4 separate regions of the Homo sapiens genome follow, and all the other regions are linked to region 1. Evidence: promoter capture Hi-C in 16 types of primary human blood cells and fetal thymus (Javierre and others, 2016). All regions are on one chromosome and are shown on one strand. Each heading gives the region's core, a stretch centred on a gene start or on the middle of the fragment in contact. The rest is flanking DNA. Distances are from core to core; before and after follow the strand shown. Region 1 holds the start of KCNJ13 (potassium inwardly rectifying channel subfamily J member 13). Region 2 overlaps ATG16L1 (autophagy related 16 like 1). Region 3 has its middle 13 kb from the start of ATG16L1. Region 4 overlaps INPP5D (inositol polyphosphate-5-phosphatase D).

Region 1 (5,717 bases), core at 2,372-4,871:
ATACAACTTTCTTTTGCTCTGAGGTAACTTAACATTTATTGGTGATTAGAGACTTTTTTTTGTATTTTCTTCAGATTTGAGCTAATGGAACACTGGGATGATTGTTCAGTTTATTTAGGTTAGATGGCGATTTCAGTTTCATATGATATAGACTTTAAAAAATCTTAGTGCATTATTTTAATGTTTTATAACTTATTACCCTAACAAGTTGTCATAATCATTTAGTGTATTCTTTTTTCTTGGCATAGCTACTTAATGACCCTTATTTTGTTAGATTATTTTTAAATGTTTTAGGAGACCTGATCTCTACGCTTTGGAAACAACAAAATCTTCATAGGCACTGTGATAACTGCTTTCATACTGTATTATCTCTTAATTCTTCAGTATCTCAACAAGATAGCCATTGTTCCCATTTTCAGATGAAGTCACTGGTGCTCAGACAGATAAAAGAAATTTACACAAGGCAAATAGGAGCTTTGGATTATTTGGATGGTTATTCAAGTCTAGCTAACTTCAAAGCCAGTTAATTTTTTTTTTTAATACAGGAAGCGTTTGGTGAAATAACAGTCTTTCCAAAAATGATTGATATTGCATTCTCAAGAAGGTCTTTGATAGCCAAATTTCTAGCACCTTTAGTAGATGCCTTTCTTGCCCCTGAAACTGTCTCAAGTATCTGTATTAAACCATTGTTAACTTTGTTCATGATTCTTTAGATAGTAATGATTAATAATATTAGCTAATATATATATTGTTTAGCATGTGCCAGGAATCATACCAAATACTTCATATGTACAAACTGATGTGAAGCCAGTGGCACAGAGTAAGCTCTCAGTAAAGTATTAGTTGCTTTATTGTTATTAAAAACGTGTCTGGCTCCCAGCACTTCGGGAGGCCGAGACAGGAGGATTGCTTGAGTCCAGGAGTTAGAGACCAGCCTAGGCAACGTAGTGAGACTTTGTCTCTATTTAAAAAAAAAAAAAAAAAAAAAAAGGTGTCTTAAGTTTCACAGTAATAAGTATCACTATTAGTCCCATTTTACAGATAACGAAAGTGAGGAACCAGGCATGGTGACTCATGCCTGTAACACTAGCACTTTGGGACGTTGAGTCGGGAGGATTGCTTGAGGTCGGGAATTCAAGACCGATCTGGCCAACATAGCGAGACCCTGTCTCTAAAAGAAAAAAAAAAAAGAAAGAAAATGAGGTATAATGAGGTAGTAAGTGGTGGATATGAATATTATACATTCTGAGTCCAGAGTTAGTGCCATATTGCCTCCAAAACAGATGTTTGACCCTGCTTAGCCTTTGTGAATAATACAGTTTCATTTGATTAGTTTTGTTCAAGAGCCGCTCCAGAGTGTTTGTTCTTCAGTAATGTTTATTGGGTTCAGACCTATTATTTGTAGGTTAGAAACAGATATTCAGTTAGGAAAGACTTCTTTCAAGACTTGAAGATTATCACAGTCTGAATTATTAGATAGTCCAGTTGTGTTTTGCACATCAGTAAAATTAAAGCAATGTAGAGAGGAGAGTTATGACATAACATTGCCAAGTTTCTGTTTTGCCAGATGAGAAGACAATTTTACAAGTATAATACTGTCATTATAAATAAAATTATGATGACATAATAAAAGATTTTGACACATGGAAGAAGGATATAACAATGAAAGGATAGTTGGTTGCCTTCAAAATGGTGGGTGAACAACTTTGTCATTCTCCACTGTTGTTGCTTCCTGCCTATGTGAAAATGCCCCTCATGCTCCTGGACACTAGTGCTTGTTCCACATTTGGAGCCACTGTCCTACTGAATGCTGCTAAGTGCTTAGTGTTTCACAAAAGCTTGAGAAAGAAAAAACTCCATGATTCTTTTGTATTTTCAACCTATTTTATGAAAGTTCTAAAATTCCTTACTTAGAGCCTTTCTGTATAGACTGTAGCTAACAAAATTCATCATTCTCATTTGGGCTTTTTCAGGACTGTTGTTACTTCTTACCTACAACTTTTGTAGCACTCTTACTCTAGGCTCTTTACAATTGTATTTTTTTTCTCTTGCAACTAAATACATGGAAAAACCTGTGAACAGGGAAGTCAAAAGGCTGATAATCGGAACAGTTAAGCAGCATTTTTTTTTTTTTAACCTAAGACTGCTGGATTTGGTTTGGATTGTGTTGGCAAGTGGAGTAATATAGAGAAGGAAGATTGATTTCTGATTCCCACTTAACCAATTACCCTGAATAACTATTCTGTGGACTCTTATAGTCAGTGTGGTTTAGTGTAGAGAACGCAGGATAAGGGGATATGGCCTTCAGGCTCTAGCACTGTTGGTTACATAGCTGTGTCATTTTGGGCAAACCACTCAATCCCATTGGCCTGGCATCCTTAGATTAAAACAAAGAAAGTGAAAAAAGAGGGAATTATGATAATAAGATTTCTTAAAGCTCTACAGACTTATGTAAACAAACATATTTCCACTTCCTACAAAGGATACAAGTTTCCTATATGATTTCTTTTATTTCTGTATAGTTTGATGTCTGCTCGTATGGTTTAAAAAATTATACTATTGTTACCTGATATTTAAGTCTCATCAGCTGATCCCAATAGAAAGTGAGGTGGAAGGTTGGGAAGGTTTGCTTCTATTGCTGTGTGTGGGCTGTAAAATATTTGCCCATTTATAAATTATTTGGAGGAAAAATAGTACCTATTAAAAAATGATAGGCAGCTTCACTGATCATCAGAATTCATTCTACTCATTGGGTTGTAGCACTTAAAAGTATGTATTTTCTGTTGCCATGATAAAAAATAGTATAGTTCATACTGAGGAGTTAAGATAAAGGCTATAACTAACAAACATTAAATGAAGATGGCATTACTATGTATTTGTTCATGTCTGGTGTAAATACTTTAAGACTATATTGAAAGTCTTATAATGATTTCTCCTGCCCTCCACAATTAGGGCAAACACTATTGAGTTCTAACCCTGTTATATAAGCTCAGAGATTCTATTTTAATTTCTCAGTTGCAGAAGTATCTATTAATTTCCGCAATAATTCCATGCTTAAAAATTTACGATTAGGATACTCATCACTTTCTTCTTAGATTACAGAAGTAAAAACAAAGTGGCTTATTCTTTTGGCATTTGTTTTTTTATGCTCATTTTGGGTTTTTGAAATTCCTTCCAAAAGAAAAAGACTTTTTTTTTCCTCAAGCCACTGAATTTTTTTTCCTAAGGCCTTTATCCTCTACTGATATATTGTAATAGAAAATTAGTATACATTTAATAAAACAGTTAAGAAAATTTCCAGTAATACATTCAATATGGCTGTTATTGCATTTTTAAGATTTAAGGGAAAAGAATATAGAAACCTTACTATCCTACACTATAGATAATGTCTTTGTTTTAAAAATCTGTTGGAAGTAATCTAGCTCTGTTGCTATTTGCCAGTCAGTTTCTTTCCCTGTTTCCCATAAGGAAAGAAGAATGGATATTATTGCATGTACTCACCAGTTCTTTTGCTGGGTCAGCCTTTATGCCAAGGTAGGTCTTAAGGAAATTTACAGAGTCTGCCTTTTTGATCAGATAATTTTAATCTACAAGTCTAGTTTGTAGGTTCTCTTCTTGGACTGGTTTTACAGCTTACATTCCTCTGTTTATAATGTTGTGGGGGCTGGTTTCAGCTGAGGTTGATGTGATTGGTCACTTAGCCTGCAGGGGGGCCAATTAGCTCTGATCATGTGGAAAAGAATGCTGGTTTGTTAGGAGGTCTTTCTTTACCCAACACAAACCTTAACAACTCTGGAGAAAGCCTCCAGAACTGACTTGGAGAAGGGGTGCATTTTTTCCCTCTAATCAGGACCGGTCTTTAGTAAGTTTGCATAATCTTACTTAAGAGTTTTTTTGAAAGTTCAAAGGGATAAAATTCCCTGCAAGATTTTTCAGCCGTCTTTCCTTATATAGCATGTTGAAGTGTGAGATATTTCCTTTACTAATCTTTTTTTTTTTCCACCATGTCTTTGGGGAAGATTTATTTGGATAAGGACTTATAGGCATAAATTAATGCATTGATTTTCTTAGTTTTCTTCTCATGTCTCATCAGAATGGCTACCATTAGTTCCAGAACTAGTAATATAGATAATTACGTGAAATCTTTTATTTTTTTGGTTAGGAAACAAACTTTTTTTTTTTAAAGGCTGTATACAAAGACCTTGAATAGGAATAAAATTAATTGTTCTGTACCTGATACTTTAAAAAATGCACACCTGTGGGAAAGAACCGAAGAATTTTCTTAAGGCTTATTTTAATGATGTTTAGAAGATGTTTTCCTGATCAGTGTGATGAAGTATAGTGTTAATAAAACATAGTGTACAGTGTACAGAAAATGTAACACAACATTGAAATAGTGTTTAGCTGGAAAATGTGATCCAGCTTGTTGGAACCCTGAAACGTGCTGTGGTATGGCTTTGTGCAGTGCCTTAGTGAACAGTACTTTTCTCCTCCTCCGTTAGCTGCTGATTTTAAAACTTTGACCAAATGTCACATGTAAGAGGATCTGAGAAACAAAGACTGTGATTGTTCAAAGTAAAATCTTGGAAGGCCTGCTGGGAAAATTATTAATGTAGACCAATATAATGCTACTTAGAAAGTGAAATCCGCCTTTGTAGAATCCTCTCCGTCCCCCCCCCGCCCCACAATTTAAAAAATATATTAATTCCTTCTTTGTTTTATTAGTACCAAATACTTCAACACAAGTTCAGACACAGCATTAGAAACACTGACCTTCAGAACTAGGGAAGGTAAAGTATAAAGAAGGATTTGTGGTGTGATGCTCATTCCCTGCATGTACTGGTAGGAATTATAATGTGTATCAATTCCCAGCTAACAAATTGCAGAAAAACAGAACAACACAACAACAAAATACTAGAACAAGTATAGTATAATACTGCTTCTAGAAAGCAGAAGCACTTGAGTGTATCTGTCATGTGTTTTGAATATACATTGTATATTTTTTATTTTCATTTTTTTTAGACATAGAGTCTTGCTGTGTCACCCAGGCTGGAGTGCAGTGGTGTGATCACAGCTCACTGCAGCCTCGACCTCCCAGGCTCAAGTGATCCTCCCACCTCATCCCCCACCCCCTGCAGTAATGCCACCACATCTGGCTAATTTTTTATTTTTTGTAGAGGCAGGGTCTTGCTGTGTTGTCTAGGCTGGTCTTGAACTCCTGGGCTCAAGCTGTCCTCTCAATTCAGCCTCCCAAATTCCTGGGATTACAGGCATGAGCCACTTCACCTGGCCTGAGAATACATATTATAGTAGGCAAGACAGTTAAGGATTTTATTAAACTTAAAAGTCTTTTTCCATAGTATACTTGGTTTCAATATATTGAGACAAAAATGATTTGGCAAAATGATCTTCAATTAAGAAAGAAATGTCTTAAGTGAAGCTAATTTCTGGATCTCTACAATTTGAAAGTCTTGCTATGGTCTATAAACAGTGATTCCTACTGCTGTGAATATTGTAGACCAGCTCTGAAGTGCCCACTTAGGAGCATAGCTCTCCCATTACAATAGCCTGAGCATTTAAAGTCATTTCTGGTTGAAGTTACCAGGTTAGCTGGTGTAGGGGAGAGAGAAGACCTTCTCTCTTCCTTTTGAAGGTTTGATAATTGAGTCTATAATATAAAGCAACAGTAGGTAGACTTAACAGAAGAAAAACAGTTT
Region 2 (5,574 bases), core at 620-3,119, 500 kb after region 1:
CATAAAAAAGAAAAGGAAATTTCATGGGGGTAAAAGGTTTGGTCACCTGTCATACTTTTCAGCAGTGGGTCACAAGAGGGAGGCAAAGTGGAAAATGAAGTTACCAAAGTGATGCCTGTTGCCCAGCCTGTTAATAGTCACTCCCTCCGTGATACTTCAAGCATTTTATTTTTTTTTAGTCCCAAGCAAATGTAAATATCACATATTCTCTTCCCCAAGTGACCTTTTAGACAAGTGATTATCTACTTAACAATCTCATATTGATAGTCTATGTTTTCTAGTCTTTCTTTTCCTTCTCTATTATAGAAATTTCCAAACATACGCAGTATCTCTTCCCCCCCACACTTATGCTGGAGCAATTTGAAGCCAATTCTAGGCATTATATTTCATCCAAAAATATTTTACTGCCCATAATCTTCTTAAGAGAGTATAGTGAATTTTTCGATTATTCCCTTTTCCCATTCTAGAATGGGATGCTGAGTCTCACTCTGTTATCCAGGCGGGAGTACAGTAGCACAATCTCAGCTCAGTGCAGTCTCAACCTTGGGCTGAAGCAATCCTCCCACCTCAGCCTCTTGAGTAGCTGGAACAATAGGTATGCGCTACCACACCTGGCTAATTTTTGTTTTTTAGTTTTTAAGAGACGAGGTTTCGCCACGTTGCCCAGGCTGGTCTTGAACTCCTGAGCTCATGCGATCTGCCCACCTCGGTCTCCCGAAGTGCTGGGATCACAGATGTGTGCCACTGCACCCAGCCAGGATGCTTTTTTACTTGGTTTTCTTTCTTATCCTGAACATAAGTACCATCTTTTGCCAGTGTTTATGCCAGTATTAGAAATTTCCCTGTGAAGAATATAAATTCTCTTAAAATAACGACTGTCATTTTTATCTAAGGCTTATGCATTAACAGGCACCATTCTGGGTTGCAAAAACCTTTCTGGAGCTGAGCAAACTGAGATTTCAGAAACTTGGCAGAGGTCACACTGCCAGTACACACTAGTCCCATAATGTTTCCAGAAAGAACTACATAGAATTCCATTATAACACAGATTGATGTTTTTGCCATCTACTTATATTAGGACTCATTGCGAAAGCTGTATTATGAGAGGCCATGTGCTATACATTATTTAAATATGTAGTATTTAATATTATTAGTAAATTAGTAATTACTAGTAGATCAATAAGTAGTATTAACTCAGTCTGGACCAAAATTAATTCTAGGTTTACTTTTAAACTATTAAGATAAATATAGGCCATTATTGTTAGAACAGATGAAATTAATGCAAGGACCAACTTTAAGCAGTCTACACAGATTTTGAGTACTTTTTGAGAAGGTTGCACTGCACTCTAATGCAACTGTAACTAGAAGAATAAAATGATAATAGAATCTTAGTTGACCTGGGCTAGGAGTCCAGTTTAGTTTATGATTGGCTCCACCTGTCTTTAAGGATGAGTGTTTCCCCATGAATTAGGCATTTGGAGTGTTCGCGCATCTTGAGCTCTTGGGATGAGAATGACTGGGTTTGACACAGGGTGCTTGTCTTGCAGGATGCACATGATGGGGAAGTCAACGCTGTGCAGTTCAGTCCAGGTTCCCGGTTACTGGCCACTGGAGGCATGGACCGCAGGGTTAAGCTTTGGGAAGTATTTGGAGGTGAGAGCCTGCTGCATGTTCTCAGACTGAAAACTTGAGATGATGCACCCTTGCACTGCAGAAAGAAGCTGTGTTGCTGGCATCTGGTTGACCTTGCTTTCAGGCACTGTGAATTGTTCATTTTCTCAAAACATACATTTTATGTAAGGGATCGTTTGACCAAAGCATCATACATCTCAGTTATTCTTTACTTCCGAGTGGATGTTTGCTCTCATTTTCTAAGTAGTGATCAGAAAATACTGTTAAGTTATGGATATGTTTATGTTAGTAAGGTTTCTGTAGTTTTTCTCAAGTATATACCAATCAGAGCATCTTGCAAAATAGTACCGTTTTTATGAGGAAAATAAGTCTTATGATCATGGATTCTACAATTAAACTATACATTAAGCTGTGGTTGATGCATTTAATGACAATTGCAATAGCCTAGGGAAAAAATGACTGGAGTCATGTCTAAGCTTGAGGAAACAGAGGCGTACTACCTAGAAAAGATGTATTTAACAGTGTATCAGACGAGGGCCCTTAGATCAAGACTCAGTCTCTTTGGACTTTTAGGATGCTCAGAGATGGATGGCATTAAAACAGAAAATGGAAGTTAATGAAACCATCTCTTAGAAGTCTGAAGCCGGGCATTTCCCAGTTTTGACGTTTTCGAGATTCAGTTAAATATGCGTGTATTTTTACTAAAGTAAGGCCGAAGAATAAGGCTTAAGGTTTTTAACGGGAACCACTTTGCCAAGTGTCTGTAGCTGCGACACACACATTATCCCTGTCGAGCAATAAATAGCTCCAAAGTGATTTTGTCTGTTAATTCCCCTGATCATCACAACAGCCCTGTGTGGTTAGAATGGTAGAGATTGCGCCATTTCACAGATAAAGGGAATAAAACTCAGATACTACGTGATTTACATGGCTAGTGAATGATTTCTGTGGTGAGGGAGTGGTGGAACTAGGACTAATGCAGGCCAGAAGACCTGAAATTCCATGCTCTTACTGTAGCCTTCTCTAGCAACTGAAAAATCTTAGGGGTACTGCTTTTAAGGTTTATCAGAGCAGGAGCAACTTATTAGAATAGGTTATTAGTAAAGCACCCCTCCTATCTGCCCCGGCCTTTGATTTTCAGGAAAGGGACTCAGCAGTTAGAGCCCATTGAAGCATACTAAAATTTACTATTTTGCCCAGAAACATTTAGCTTATGAATGATAATGGCTGAAGCAATTAGAAAACAATAATAAAAACAAATCATAAGAAATTTTCACTTTGTGAGGCTGGGGCAAGAGGATTGCTTGAGGCCAGGAGTTCAAGACCAGCCTGGGCAACAAAATGAGACCCTGCCTCTACAAAAAAAATATTAAAAAGTAGCTGGGTGTGTTGGCATGCACTTGCAGTCCCAGCTTCCTGGGAAGCTGAAGTGGGAAGATCAATTGAGCCCAGGAGTGAGAGGCTGCTGTGAGCTCTGATCGCATCACTGCACTCCAGCATGGGCAGCAGAGCAAGACCCTGTGTCTTTTAAAAAAGGAAATTTTAGGGAATTTGATTTGCAAAATCAAAGTAAACAGTCTGTTTTGAGTATGCCATTGAGATTTAAATAAAAATAACACTAGAAATATTTTCGTTTTACTCCTTGGTCAGTAAAAACACCTATAAGAAAATTAGAGGTACCAACCTTTAATTCTAGTAACCTTTTTGCGGCTGAAAAGAAACGAACATCAGTTGAAGTTAATACTGACATAATCTGTGCCAGCACATAATTTGTGTTAATAAAATCAAGTTTCTACCTAATCTACAGAAATAGCAGAATGTGTGGCGGCATTTCTTACAGTTTTGTGTAGGGCCTTTCTTCTACAAACAGCTGTTTCAGTCTACAAGATTTTTCGTCTTGGCAAATATTTATTTACTGAATCTTGGAAGAGGCCAAGTTCAAGAGACCTTTTCTGAAATAGTTTGGGGGTCCTGTTTTTTCATCCTTTTAGATTATCAGAAGAATCACACTTTCTACCCAGTGGGAACATCTGTTTTTGCTCATTTTCTCCAAAGCAGAAGTTCCACTGGGAATTATACAAATGCTGTTGACATAGCACCCCCCGCCCCCAACCCCGTATCTTGTAGATAATTAAGAGTTTTAATACGGTCTTTGTTCTTTTGAGATCAATCTCTCATATTGAATAGCATTAATTTTTTGGTCACTTCCTACATTTCGGCACTGTGTTAAGTGCCAAGCAAATAGACCAGTATTTTAAGCATAAGCCAAAGAGATATTTCTTAGAATTTGCAGTAATATTTTTATCTGTGAAGATTTCATCTAAAGGAAAATCTTAGCGAATATTAGCCTTTTTCAACCCTTTTGAAAATCTTAAGAAAGCTAGGATCCAGAAAAAGCCATTAAATATGCTGTATTTTGCAAGTGAGTTCAGAGGAGAGGTTCATCAACCAGGTTAACAGTCTGTGGCCTGAATGTACATGACAGCTTCAAACCAGTATTCGTGTCACCTTGATATCTGGCTCCAATCATTATTTTTACTACTTAGAAGTACTGAATAAGATAAAAATGTGTTGAAATGTTTTCTGTTCTGTGTTCCTCTTTTACAAATATGATTACAATGGTTCCTTAATTTCTAGCTTATCTGTGTGGATCATCCTTAAGTTACCCTTTTAAAAGGAATTTAATCAAATCATTGAGATTTTTGCTCTTCTCAGTTTGGGATTGCCCGTTACTGAAATTTCCGTGTGGGTGGCCAGGCTGTCTGGAAGCAGAGTAGATAAAGTGGACAGTGGCTCTGTTGGTGAGGGAGAGCTGTGTAGAGGGATGGGAGGTGCTGGCACTTAGTTCGCTTGCCAGGATCTTAGATTCATGGAGATAAAGTATGAGGGCAAATTCCAGAAACTCCAAACTAGCTTGACTGGTATTCTATATGAGTAGTCATTTAAATGTAACTAACACAATTTCTTTTCACACCTTAATGAAAATTACCACACCATGGGTCCAGAAATTGACTGCCAGTTTCTACAAAAGTGGTAGTTAAGTTGGCACAAATGCTGATCAACCCAAATATTTATGTATGTAAGTTTTTAAAATGTACTGAGAAATAGTGGAACTGAATAAACCCAGTCTCTAGTTTGATTGACATGGTTTATAAATTCCTACACTTTGTTTTTCTAAAGAGAATGAATAACTACATTTCTTAAAGAACAGAACACACATCCAAGATGCTGGGGTCAGTGTCCACTTAGACTTGCATTCCTCTTAGAAACTAGCAGTATCTTTTATCTCTCATGTTCTCTTTGTCCTGCTATTTTGTTTGATTCTGTAAAGGTACAGGATAGCTATTGTTTTAGCAGTGTAATTGGCTTCCATTGTATTTCAGTGCCCTGTTTTAATGTATTTATTGGCTTTATTTAACTTCCCATCATCCTAATTTTTTCTTTTTATACAGAAAAATGTGAGTTCAAGGGTTCCCTATCTGGCAGTAATGCAGGAATTACAAGCATTGAATTTGATAGTGCTGTAAGTATTGAATAGCTATGATTTTAAAGGTTTTTAGAAATAATTTAAGACATTAGGTTCTTGAAATTATAACATAACTTACCCGATTTCTCTGCCATTCTCTGTATCTTAAGCCAAATCCATGTTAAAGAAAGATGGAAATAGATTATAGGGTTAATTGCTGTATCAACTCTGATAAACCCTTGGGTTCTGCTTCATGCATTAGGCTTGTGATGTTACTCAGTACTTTGTATAATTTCACTTAATAGTTGTATTTTGAGTGTATAGATGCTGTACTCCAGGGGCCAGCGTGGTCTCTACCCTCCGAGATTCGCCATCTAAATGAGAGTGATGGGAAAGCATTAAACTGCAAAGCGTTGTGCTGAGTTATGGCTGAGATGTGTGTGGAGTAGAAAGGAAATACTGATGAGAGAGTAGCT
Region 3 (5,717 bases), core at 1,024-3,523, 460 kb after region 1:
ACAAAGTACAGTGTTTTTTTCTACCTCAACTAGAATAAAACCCACATTTACGAATATTTTTCAGGTAAGATATTCACTCGTTAAAAAAAAAAAAAAAAAAACTGGCCGGGTGCAGTGGCTCACACGCTCACGCCTATAATCCCAGCACTTTGAGAGGCCGAGGTAGGCAGATTACCTGAGGTCAGGAGTTCGAGACCAGCCTGACCAACATGGTGAAACCCCATCTCTACTAAAAATACAAAAAAAAAATTAGCCGGGAGTGGTGGTGTGTGCCTGTAATCCTAGCTACTCGGGAGGCTGAGGCATGAGAATTGCCTGAACCCAGGAGATGGGGGTTGCAGTGAGCCGAGATCGCACCACTGCATTCCAGCCTAGGCAACAGAGCGAGACTCTGTCTCATAAATAGATAAATAAATAAAAATGAAAAATAAAAAAATAATAACTTCTACCTGTAAAACAAGGGCTCACCCCAAATGGGATTTAGGTTTTTCCTTTTTAATTTTTAGCGGGAAAGCTGCTTAGAAGGTTGCTAATAGCTTTCCGTTTCTGGAGGTGGCCTCTTTGGAGCTGACTTTATTTACTCTGGGAAAGTTAACAGAAACGGGCTTTCTAGTTACCCAAAGGTAAAGCAAATTCCCACCCATCAACCTTGGAGAAGCTGTGAAATCACATCCCATGGGGAGGCAAGATTGTTGGGAGGATTGGAGAAGATTCCATCCTAGGCCTGGATGCAGGAGACCTGCCCTCCCAGCTGTGGCATGAGAGGCCACCGCCAGGGGTGGCAGAGAGGGTGGGCGGATCCCTCACACTGCAGTGTCATCCACCAGGACCCGAGAAGGGCTCTGCAAGGCCGCCCTCCTCCTGCTAGGGGCCCTTCTCCCGCTCCCACCTAGGACTCGGGGAGCAGCTCTCGGGCCTCTTCCCAGGACACACAGGAGTTCCCGTCCTCAGATCTTGGTAAAGGCAGCAGGAGAGGGTGGAAATGTCCTGCTTTTGCGTCTTTGCCATAAAATGATGTCTAAGGGGTCTTCCTGCTCTAAAATTCTAAATTTCCATTTCAGTCAAGGCTTTCTGCTTATGGGGAAGAGAAACTAGCTCCAAGCAGAGACAGAGTAACCTAACCCTAAGGAGAGCTCAGCCAGGCAGAGTGGCTCACGCTGTAATCCCAGCATTTTGAGAGGCTGAGGCGGGTGAATCACTTGAGGTCAGGAGTTTGAGACCAGCCTGGCCAACATGGTGAAACCCTGTCTCTACTAAAAATATAAAAATTAGCCAGGTGTGGTGGCACATGCCTGTAATCCCAGCTACTCGGGAGGCCGAGGCAGGAGAATCACTTGACCCTGGAAGGCGGAGGTTGTGGTGAGCCAAGATCGTGCCATTGCATTCCAGCCTGGGCGACAGAGCAAGACTCTGCCTCAAAAAAAAAAAAAAAAAAAAAAAAAAAGGAGCACTGATGAAGAGTCTAGCTAGCCAGGCCTCAGCCACATGGAGCTGGGAACAAGGTTGTCAGGCAGAGGGTGGCTCTTCTCTGGGCCCTGGTCCTCTCTGGACGTTTCCTTCTGCTCACCTGTTTCTTTCTCTGCCCAGCGTCCTCTGCCTATTCCTGGTTCTCCTTGGCTTTGTCTTGCCATGGTGCTGACTCAGCCCTTGACTGCTCCAGACCCAGAGGCCCGGCTCCTCACTCTCCCTTAAGAGAGGATTTAGGCCCAGTTAGGTGTCCACGGCTGGTCCAAAAAGTTCTTGGCCGGAAAGCTTCAGTCATGGGATAGAAACACAGCCACCCAGGCACATGACTTGATTAGAGAGAAAGACAAGTGGACTTGGCAAGGGTCAGGACCTCCAAAACATCAACAGCAGTGTTGGTGGCAGCTCCTTTCATTCCCACTTTCTTCTATTACTTGGGTTTCATCCAAACCTCTCTGGTTCTCAGAGAAGTACGTTCTAGGGCAGGGTTAGACATGAGAGATTTATTGAAGGAAGTGTCTGTGCAGGAAGATGGGGAGATTACAGGAGGAGGCTGGGAGAGCTGTCAGGCCATGATGCAGGTCTGACCCTGGTGAAGGAGAGAGGGAAGGAAGGTGAGGTAGGAAGACTCTCAGCCTGCCGCACATTCTAACAAAGTTTGGGCAGGGTTGATAGACATCTGTCTAAGTCAGTTCAGTCTACTATAATAAGATACCATATACTGGGTGGCTTATAAACAACAGAAATGTATTTTCCACAGTTCTGGAGCCTGGGAAGTCCAAGGTCAAGGTGCTGGCAGATCCAGTATCTGGTGAGAACCTTCTTCCTGGTTTGCAGATAGTAGACTTCTCACTGTGTCCTCACATGGTAGGAGGAGCAAGGCAGCTCTCTGGGGCCTCTTTTATAAGGTCCTCACCTCATGAATGGGTGCTGATCCCATTCATGGGGGCTCTTCCCTTGTGACCTAAGCACCTCCCAAAGGTCCCACTTCCAAATACCATCACACTGGGGATTATGGCTTCAAGATATGAATTTGGGGCAGGGGCACAAACATTCGGTCCATAGCAGCATCCTTGAGGCAAAGTTCATCAGAGGAGTCCCACGTGTCACAGGAGTCATTCTGCCTTAGCAGCCCTGCTGTGCTTCGTCATTGGTTGGGAGCAGTGGTAAGAAATGTGGACACAGCTTGAATGTGGTGGTGGATTTAGAGCACAGCATCAAGGGCTGTCAGGTGATTGTATTTCCCCCAGCAGGAGATCTGAGAGATACAAGTTCAAGGTCAACACACAGGCTCTTTTTTATGAGGCAGGAGAAGGAAGGCACAGATTGGTAAGCTTGCAGGCTATGGAGTCCACAGGCTGGGTTGGAATCTGCCTACCTCTTACCCATCATGTGCACCTGGACAAGTTACCTGTCTCCCTGAGCCTCACTTTCTTCCTCTGAAATAATAATAATGGCCATACCTATAAAGCACTTACTGTGTGCAAGACACCGTTGTCAGTATTAATTCATTTAATCCTGGGGCACAGAGTTTAAGCAACTTGCCTAAGATATCAGAGGTGATAAGTGCTAGCATCAGAATTTGAACCCAGAACCCAGGCTACATTGTCTTTGTGAAGTAGAGCCAGCAATAGCACCAACACGACTATGCTGTTGTGAAAACTGAGAAGAGAACAATTGTAAAGCATTTAGCCTCACACACTGTATACATTCAATAAATGTTACCTGCTGTTACTGGCATTACTAATTATTATTATAGAAGGTACAGACTGAGTTTTTCTTTCTTTTTTTCTTTTTTTTTTTTTTGAGACGGAGTCTCGCTCTGTCGCCCAGGCCGGACTGCGGACTGCAGTGGTGCAATCTCGGCTCACTGCAAGCTTCGCTTCCCGGGTTCACGCCATTCTCCTGCCTCAGCCTCCCGAGTAGCTGGGACTACAGGCGCCCGCCACCGCGCCCGGCTAATTTTTTGTATTTTTAGTAGAGACAGGGTTTCACCTTGTTAGCCAGGATGGTCTTGATCTCCTGACCTCATGATCCACCCGCCTCGGCCTCCCAAAGTGTGAGTTTTTCTTTAGTGGTTTCGAAGATACACACTTTTCATCCCAATGGTCTCTTCTGACAATAACTAGTTTCCTTCATATGGTGGGGAAAATGGATCCCACTGTGACAATGTAAAGTGATCCCACCTGCAGACATTTGCCTTGCTTTGGCTCTACGCTCATCAGATGTCTTCTGAGGATAACGTGGTGTTCTGTGCACACTCCCAACAGGGTAAAGGGGACACACCATTGATAGCCTACCCAGCAGCCATTTCCTGCTTCTTCCTTCCTGAGAGAGACCCAGTTTCCTTTAGATATTATTCTGGTTATCTATTGCTGCATCACGAACCATCCCCAAAACTGAAAACAACAATTCATTATCCTGTCTCACAATTCCGTGGCTGACTGGGCTCAGAAGGGTGGTTCTTGCTTGGGGTTTCTCATGTGGTTGCAGTCAGATGGCAGCTGGGGCTGGGGTCATCAGAAGCCTCCACTGAGCTGGACATCCCGGGTGGCCTCTTCATTCACGAGTCCAGAACAGTGGAAACTGGCTCAGTATCTCGGTATCTCGGTAACTCTCTCTCTTTCTCTCCCTCCCCCCATCCCGTGTCGTGTGTGTGTGTGTGTGTGTGTGTGTGTGTGTGTGTGTGTCTTTCTCTCTCTTCTTGCTCTCTCTCTCTCTCTCACTCACTTGCTGGCTCTCCACACAGCCTCTCCACATGACTATCTTGGGCTTCCTCACAGCATGGTGGCCTCCCTGCAGTCGGGCTCTGTAGATGCTGGCTGGTTTATCACAGAGCAAGCATTCCAAGAGACTGAGAAGGAGCTGCAAGGCTTCTTGTAACCCAGTTTTGAACCTTGTGCAAAGACGCTTCCTCCGCATTTTATTAGTTACATAGAAGCAGCCCAGACTCAGTCCAGGGATTACCAGGAGGCATGGTGTGGCAGACTGGGAGTAAGGGGAGCTTTGGAGAGGAACTACCATGGATACCCCTTTCCCACTCAGCCACAGGCCTCTGGGGCAGCCAGCCTCACCCTCCAGCCTGAGGGTGAACAAGATGGGTCTAAAGGTGATGCCTTCCCCTTGCCAAGAATGAGCATGTGACCCTGTTTTGGTCAATGAGATATAAGGGGGATGTCTGCTGGGCTTCTGGGGAAGTTTTCACATTCCTAAGAGAGAGTCTTCTTCCTCAGGTCATGCTCGGATTTGAATAAGTTTTCTGGAGCTGCCCTGGGCATTTTCCATCAGCCTGAGGATGACACCATCCCTAAGAAGGGCAGAGCAGACAGGTGGAAAGACCCAGGGCCCTGGATGCCACAGTGTAGCCCATCCACAGCCAACCCTGAAGCCCACCCTACTTTGGGACTCTCTGTTATCTGAAATAAGCCAAGACCACGTCTCTCTCTCTCTATATATATGTGTGTGTATGTGTATACATATATACACATACATACATATATGTGTGTGTATATATATACATATATATCACTCATATATATACACACATACATATATGATATATATGAGTAATATATATGTGTGTACATATATATGAGTGATATATATGTGCATATATATGATATATATAGATATATAGATATGTATGATATATATAGAGATATATCATATATATATAGATAGATATGTATCTATATATATATAGATATATATATCACTCAGGCTGGAGTGCAGTGGTGTTATCACAACTCACTGCAGCCTCAAGCTCCTGGGCTCAAATGATCCCACCTCAGCCACCCCTTAGCTCTCCTATGCACAGAGGGCTGTACAGTAGATGGCTGTCTGAATTTGGCCTGCGGGCCATATTTCGCTGATCCCTGGTTTAAAATGTCAAGGAGTAAATACTGCTGACACAAGATGCTGACTTAAGGCTGCTTGTCCCTCTAATCCCCACTGTAAATTATCATTATAATTATCCACTGATGCTCAGGTTCGCAAATCTGCAGATTGTAACTTAATTTAATTCTTGCTTGAGTGAGAGGATGAGTTTACCTTAAGCTTAAAAGATGGTAACTTTTAAGATTAAGGTAATGGGTGTGAGGTGGGTGCTGGGCTTCTGTAAGAGAAGTCAAGACTTGTAAGGAGAAAAATATTCTTACAGCTTAATAAGGCAAAGGAGAGTCACTAGCAAGAATCAAAGTGCTTATTGCCTTTTAGATACTTCCCCAGTACCCCACTTCCTGACCAAACCACAA
Region 4 (5,717 bases), core at 1,603-4,102, 400 kb after region 1:
TATTTCCTGATGGCCTATTATGGGTTAGGCACTCTCCTAGGTGATGGGAGAGCAAAGATGTCTTTTCCAGGGACTTCACAGTAGGAAAAACAGATATGCAACTAGCTGTAGCCAGAGCCAGAATGTGACAATGCCAGGGCAGGGAAGGATCAGGGAAGCCAGCCCCTGGCAGGATTCAAGGGTCAAATGGCTGGGACGGTGAGGTACCCAGGCCCACTAGAAGCCTAGGGCAATGGAGCGCAAGTTCAAAGTGTCATCTGAAAGAGTTCTGGGCCCCATCTGGGCTCAGGAGAAAGTGAAGAACTGGACGTGGGAGAGGAAGGCCAAGCGCTGGGTGGATTTTAGAACAGAGCAGGAGAGGAAGAGAATACAACTGAGAGGACAGGAGGAGATCCCGGACTGCTGTCACCCACGAGGCTGGGACCCCCAGGATGGGACACCCCATTCCGCAGGGTCCACTGCCTGCTGTGTGGATAAGGTCACCTGGCCCAAAGGCACTGTCAGAGCAGGTCCTTGGGGATCCCTGTGCAGGCTGGTGAAGGATGGTTTGCTTTGATGTGAGTTTAAGTTGAGGCAGAGGAGGGCCTGAGATGGGAGAGTGGCCGGTCCTAGATGCCAGGATGACAGGCCACAGGGGGCCACTGCAAGCTCTGCCGGGCACTGGTGCATCAGAGTGGCATGTGCAGAATTGTGGTGGGCATTGTGGTAAAGGATGAGGACGCGGCAGGGGCATCGGTGAGGAGGCCGTTGTGCACATTCAGCTGAGCAACAGCTAGGGCCGAATCAGGGAAAAAACAGTGAAAATGAAAGAAAGGGGGAAATCAGGATATATTGCGAGACCTGATTGCCATTGATAAAAACTGGAAAATCACAAGGCGGAGCTGGCTTGAAGGGGAAAAAAATAGAACTTGTTTTCAGACTTACTGATTGTGTGACATCAGTGGAAGAACCCAGAGAAAATACCCAGAAGGCAGCTGAAAATAGCGATGCGTCGCTTAACAACGGGGATATGTTCCGAGAAGCGTGTCATTAGGTGACTTCGTCATTGTGGGAACCTCATGAAGTGTGTATACACAAAGCCCACTTCAGTTAGATGGTGTGGCCTATTGATCCTAGGCTACAAACCCGTATAGCATGTTACTTTACTGAATACTGTGGGCAACTGTAACACAATAAGTTTTTGTGTATCTAAACATTAAAAAGGTACAGTAAAAATATGGTATAAAAAGAAAAAAATGGGCTGGGGGCAGCGGCTCATGCCTATAATCCCAGCACTTTGGGAGGCCGAGGTGGGTGGATCACTTGAGGTTAGGAGTTCAAGGCCAGCCTGGCCAACACGGTGAAACCTTGTCTCTACTAAAAATACAAAAATTAGCCATGCATGGCGGTACACGCCTGTAACCCCAGCTACTCGGGAGGCTGAGGCAAGAGAATCGCTTGAACCCGGGAGATGGAAGTTGCAGTGAGCCGAGATCGCGCCATTGCATGCCAGCCTGGGTGACAGAGCAAGACTGTGTCTCAAAAAAAAAAAAAAAAAAAGAAGGTGGTACACCTGTATAGGGCACTTACCATGAATGAAGCTTGCAGGCTTGGAAGTTGCTCTGGGTGAGTCAGTGAGTGAGTGGTGAATGAGTGCGAAGGCCTAGGACATTACTATGCACTGCTGTAGACCTTACAAACACTGTACACTTAGGCTACCCTACATTTATTTTTTAAATTTTCTTTTTCCAATAATAAACTAACCTTAGCTTACTGTAATTTTTTATTTATAAGCTTTTTATTTATAAACAATTTAATTTTTGACGCTTTTGTAATAAAATGTAGCTTAAAATACAAACACATTGTACAGCTGTACAGAAATATTTTATTTCTTTATATTCTTAATCTATAAGCTTTTTTTCAAGTTTTAAAATTTCAAAACTCTCATTTACATTGACTTTTTTGTTGAAAATTAAGACGTAGGCTGGGCACCGTGGCTTATGCCTGTAATCCCAGCATTTTGGGAGACCGAGGTGGGTGAGTCACCTGAGGTCAAGAGGTCGAGACCAGCCTGGCCAACATGGCAAAACTCTTGTCTCTACTAAAAATACAAAAATTAGCTAGGCGTAGTGGTGTGCACCTGTAATCCCAGCTACTTGGGAGACTGAGACAGGAGAATCGCTTGAAACCTGGAAGCAGAGGTTGCAGCGAACCGAGATGGCGCCACTGCACTCCTGCCTGGAGCAAGGCTCCGTCTCAAAAAAAAAAACAAAAACAAAAACCATAAATGCACACATTAGCCTAGGCTGAAACAGGCTCAGGATGGTCAATGACATTATCACCCACCTCCACATCTCATCCCATGGAAGGTCCTCGGGGCAATAACATGGAGCTGTCGTCTCCTATGATGACAATGTCTTCTTCTGGTTACCTCCTGAAGGACCTGCCTGAGGCTATTTTATAGTTAACATTTTCTTATAAGTAGGAATACACTCTAATGATAAATAATATCGTAAACACGGAAATGAGTGACAGTTGTTTATCATTATCAAATATTATGTACTGAACAGAATTGTACTGTTATGCTTTTACACAGCTGGCAGTGCAGTGGGCTGGTTTGCACCAGCATCCCCAGAAGCATGTGAGTAATGTGTTGCGCTGTGACGTGATGACAGCTACAGCAGCACTACGTGATGGGGATTTTCCAGCTCCATTATAATTTTGTAGGACCTCTGTCCTATATGCAGTCCATTACTGTGGTACATGACTATTTGTGGAGCCCCACGGGTAATTCTCAGAGGCAGCTGATGCCGAGAACTGCAATGTTAAGAAGTAACTGTTTAGGCTGGGCACAGTGGCTCATGCCTGTATTCCCAACACTTTGGGAGCTGAGGCAGGTAAATCATTTGAGGCCAGGAGTTTGAGACCAGCCTGGCCAACATGGCGAAACCCCATCTCTACTGAAAATACAAAAATTAGCCAGGTGTGGTGGCGCACTCCTGTGATCCCAGCTACTCAGAAGGCTGAGTCAGGAGAATTGTTTGAATCCGGCAGACAGAGGTTGCAGTGAGCTGAGATTGCCCCACTGCACTCCAGCCTGGGCAACAGAGTGAGACCCTGTCTCAAAAAAAAAAAAAAAAAAAGGACTTAACTAACTGTTAGGCAGAATCAATGAAAACTAAAAATGCACCTATTCTATGATTCAGTAATTCCGCTTTGGTGTGTGTTCAAGAGAAATTTGTATATTTGTTCACCAAAAATAGGTATAAGAATGTTTAGCCGGGCATGGTGGCTCACGCCTATAATCCCAGAGCTTTGGGAGGCCAAAGCAGGTGAATCACCTGAAGTCAGGAGTTCCAGACCAGTCTGGCCAACACCGCGAAACCCGTCTCTATACAAAATTAGCCGGGCATGCTGATGGGCGCCTGTAATCCCAGCTACTCGGGAGGCTGAGGCAGGAGAATCACTGGAACCTGGGAGGTGGAGATGGTGGTGAGCCGAGACCATGCCACTGCACTCCAACCTCAGCAACAGGGCGAGACTCCATCTCAAAAAAAAAAAAAAAAAAAAAAATGAATGTTTATGGCAGCCTTGTTTGTAATCTTCAAAACTGAAAACAACCCTATGTCCATTAACAGTAGAGTAGATAAATGTGATACTTATAAACAATGGAACTTTTATAAGCAACGAAGTGGCTGAAGGAGTCCAACATAAAAGAGTATCTACTGAGTGAGTCCATTTATATACGTTCATATAAATTAATCAATGGAGATGTTAGTCACACTAATGCTCACCTTTAGGAGGCTCTGGTATTGACAAGGAAGGCTTATGAGGGAAGCTTTAGGATGATGGCGGTTTTCTGTATCTTGCTCTGGGTAGTGGGTAAGTGGGTTTATACAAACCTAAAAATGCATGGGACTGTACACTTATGGTTAGTACACTTTATGTAAGTTGTACCTAAAGTTTTTTTTAAAAAGTGAATGGTTCAGAAGTAGAGAGAATGAAAATAAAAACTTTTGTTTTTTTTTTTTTGAGATGGAGTTTTGCTCTTATTGCCCAGGCTGGAGTGCAGTGGCGCAATCTCAGCACACCACAACCTCCACCTTCTGGGTTCAAGCGATTCTCCTGCCTCAGCCTCCTGAGTAGCTGGGATTACAGGCATGCGCCACCATGCCCGGGTAATTTTGTATTTTTAGCAGAGATGGGGTTTCGCCATGTTGGTCAGGGTGGTCTCGAACTCCCGACCTCAGGTGATCCACCCGCCTTGGCCTCCCAAAGTGCTGGGATTACAGGCATGAGCCACCATGCCCAGCCTGAAAATAGAACATTCTTGAAAGAAAATTGGTAAAAGGAAGAAAAGAGAAAAGTAATTGAAGGAGATGACAGAGATAAGCTCTTTCAGGATGAGTTCCTTTATGTTTGTAGACAGAGAAGAAAGAGCTAGAACATGAGGGGATAAGGATATTGATAAAAGAGGGTTGTTATTGCCAGTTTACCTTGTCTATCCCACCTAATGGACATCTTGCTCATCATTGCAGCCTGAGGCCCTGGAGAGGGCTTGTCATATAGTATTAATAGATACTGTTTGAGTGATTGGATAAGTAGGTAGACGGGTGTGTGAACGGTCAATGGATGAGTGGATGGGTGCGATGGATGGATGGATGGATGGATGGATGGATGGATGGATGGATAGGCGAATGGATAGGTGGGTGGGTGGGTGGATGGATGGATGGATAGATAGATGGATGTGTGGGTGGGTGAATGGATGGATGGATGGATGGGTGGATAGGTGGATGGATGGGTGGATAGGTGGGTGAATGGGTGAATGGATGATAGCCATATGGTGGTAGTGTGGATGATGATGATGATGATGATGATGTGTGGTGTGAGGATGATAATGGATTGATGATGTGTGGGTTGGTGGAGGATGATAAATGATGATAGGTGGATGGGTGGATGGATGGATGGCTAGTCGGTGGGTGGATGGATGGGTGGGTGGGTGGATGGATGAGTGGATGAATAGGTGGATGGGTGGATGGATGAAATGGACAGGTAGTTGGATGGATGGGTGGATGGATAGATGAATGAATAGGTAGATAAGTGGATGGGTGGATGGATGAATGAATAGGTGGGTAGGTGGATGGATGGATGGGTGAATGAGTAAAGATGGGTAGATGGGGAGATGAAAAGGTGGACAGATGGATGAATAGAACTGGGGGTGGAAGCTGAAGTGTGTTATTAAAGTAAGTGACTGCAGAAAGTGAGCAGAGACTGAGCTGAAAATACAGGTGGGGGTTCATCTGAGTCAGAAAGAAAGTAAGAGAAGGTGAAGATACAAGGGATACTGAAGTAGTCAGGAGGATATGTGAGGGAATACAGCAAGGTGAGTTATCTTAGTCTAAAGAAGAAGGCGTGGCAGTGGAGTCTGGACTTGAGCCATGTGAAAAAAGTTTAAAGCCACCTACAGGGAAATTCTATAAAAAGCCAACAGCCGATGAATTTGAGGATTACAGAGGCCACCAGTTAATCTGTTCTTTTACTGATTAAAAAAATAATAATAAGAGGCATTTTTTAAAGCCTATGACTTTGATTTGCAGATGAAGTACAACTTGCCTTCCTGGTGTGACCGAGTCCTCTGGAAGTCTTATCCCCTGGTGCACGTGGTGTGTCAGTCTTATGGTGAGTTCAAACACTGGGGAAAGCAGAACAGGATCAGAGAATGGCACCAAGCTGGGAGG

What was found. Contacts are between HindIII fragments. The CHiCAGO score rates a contact against its expected background, and 5 or more counts as called.
Region 2: a fragment that was not itself captured here is called in contact with the fragment with the promoter of KCNJ13 in region 1 in 5 of 17 cell types (M2 macrophages, monocytes, M0 macrophages and 2 more); the score reaches 10.9 in M2 macrophages.
Region 3: a contact is called between a fragment that was not itself captured here and the fragment with the promoter of KCNJ13 in region 1, in 6 of 17 cell types (endothelial precursors, total B cells, naive CD4 T cells and 3 more). The highest score is 6.3, in endothelial precursors.
Region 4: a contact is called between a fragment that was not itself captured here and the fragment with the promoter of KCNJ13 in region 1, in 4 of 17 cell types (naive B cells, total CD8 T cells, total B cells and 1 more). The highest score is 6.5, in naive B cells.

Annotation. Positions count from the first base shown.
Region 1 is chr2:232,772,944-232,778,660 of GRCh38, forward strand. KCNJ13 (potassium inwardly rectifying channel subfamily J member 13) reads right to left here and starts at 3,622. Exons shown (of 3, transcript NM_002242.4): 1 at 3,502-3,622. The region is part of intron 8 of GIGYF2 (GRB10 interacting GYF protein 2); the gene reads left to right. The HindIII fragment of the contact is 5,243 bases long and covers 1,837-5,717 here.
Region 2 is chr2:233,276,021-233,281,594 of GRCh38, forward strand. ATG16L1 (autophagy related 16 like 1) reads left to right here. Exons shown (of 18, transcript NM_030803.7): 10 at 1,548-1,653; 11 at 5,085-5,155. Among named protein-coding and RNA genes, the nearest start is that of ATG16L1, 27 kb to the left of the region's middle. The HindIII fragment of the contact is 474 bases long and covers 1,633-2,106 here.
Region 3 is chr2:233,235,385-233,241,101 of GRCh38, forward strand. No RefSeq gene overlaps it. Among named protein-coding and RNA genes, the nearest start is that of ATG16L1, 13 kb to the right of the region's middle. The HindIII fragment of the contact is 1,046 bases long and covers 1,751-2,796 here.
Region 4 is chr2:233,171,689-233,177,405 of GRCh38, forward strand. INPP5D (inositol polyphosphate-5-phosphatase D) reads left to right here. Exons shown (of 27, transcript NM_001017915.3): 18 at 5,577-5,658. Among named protein-coding and RNA genes, the nearest start is that of ATG16L1, 77 kb to the right of the region's middle. The HindIII fragment of the contact is 1,925 bases long and covers 1,891-3,815 here.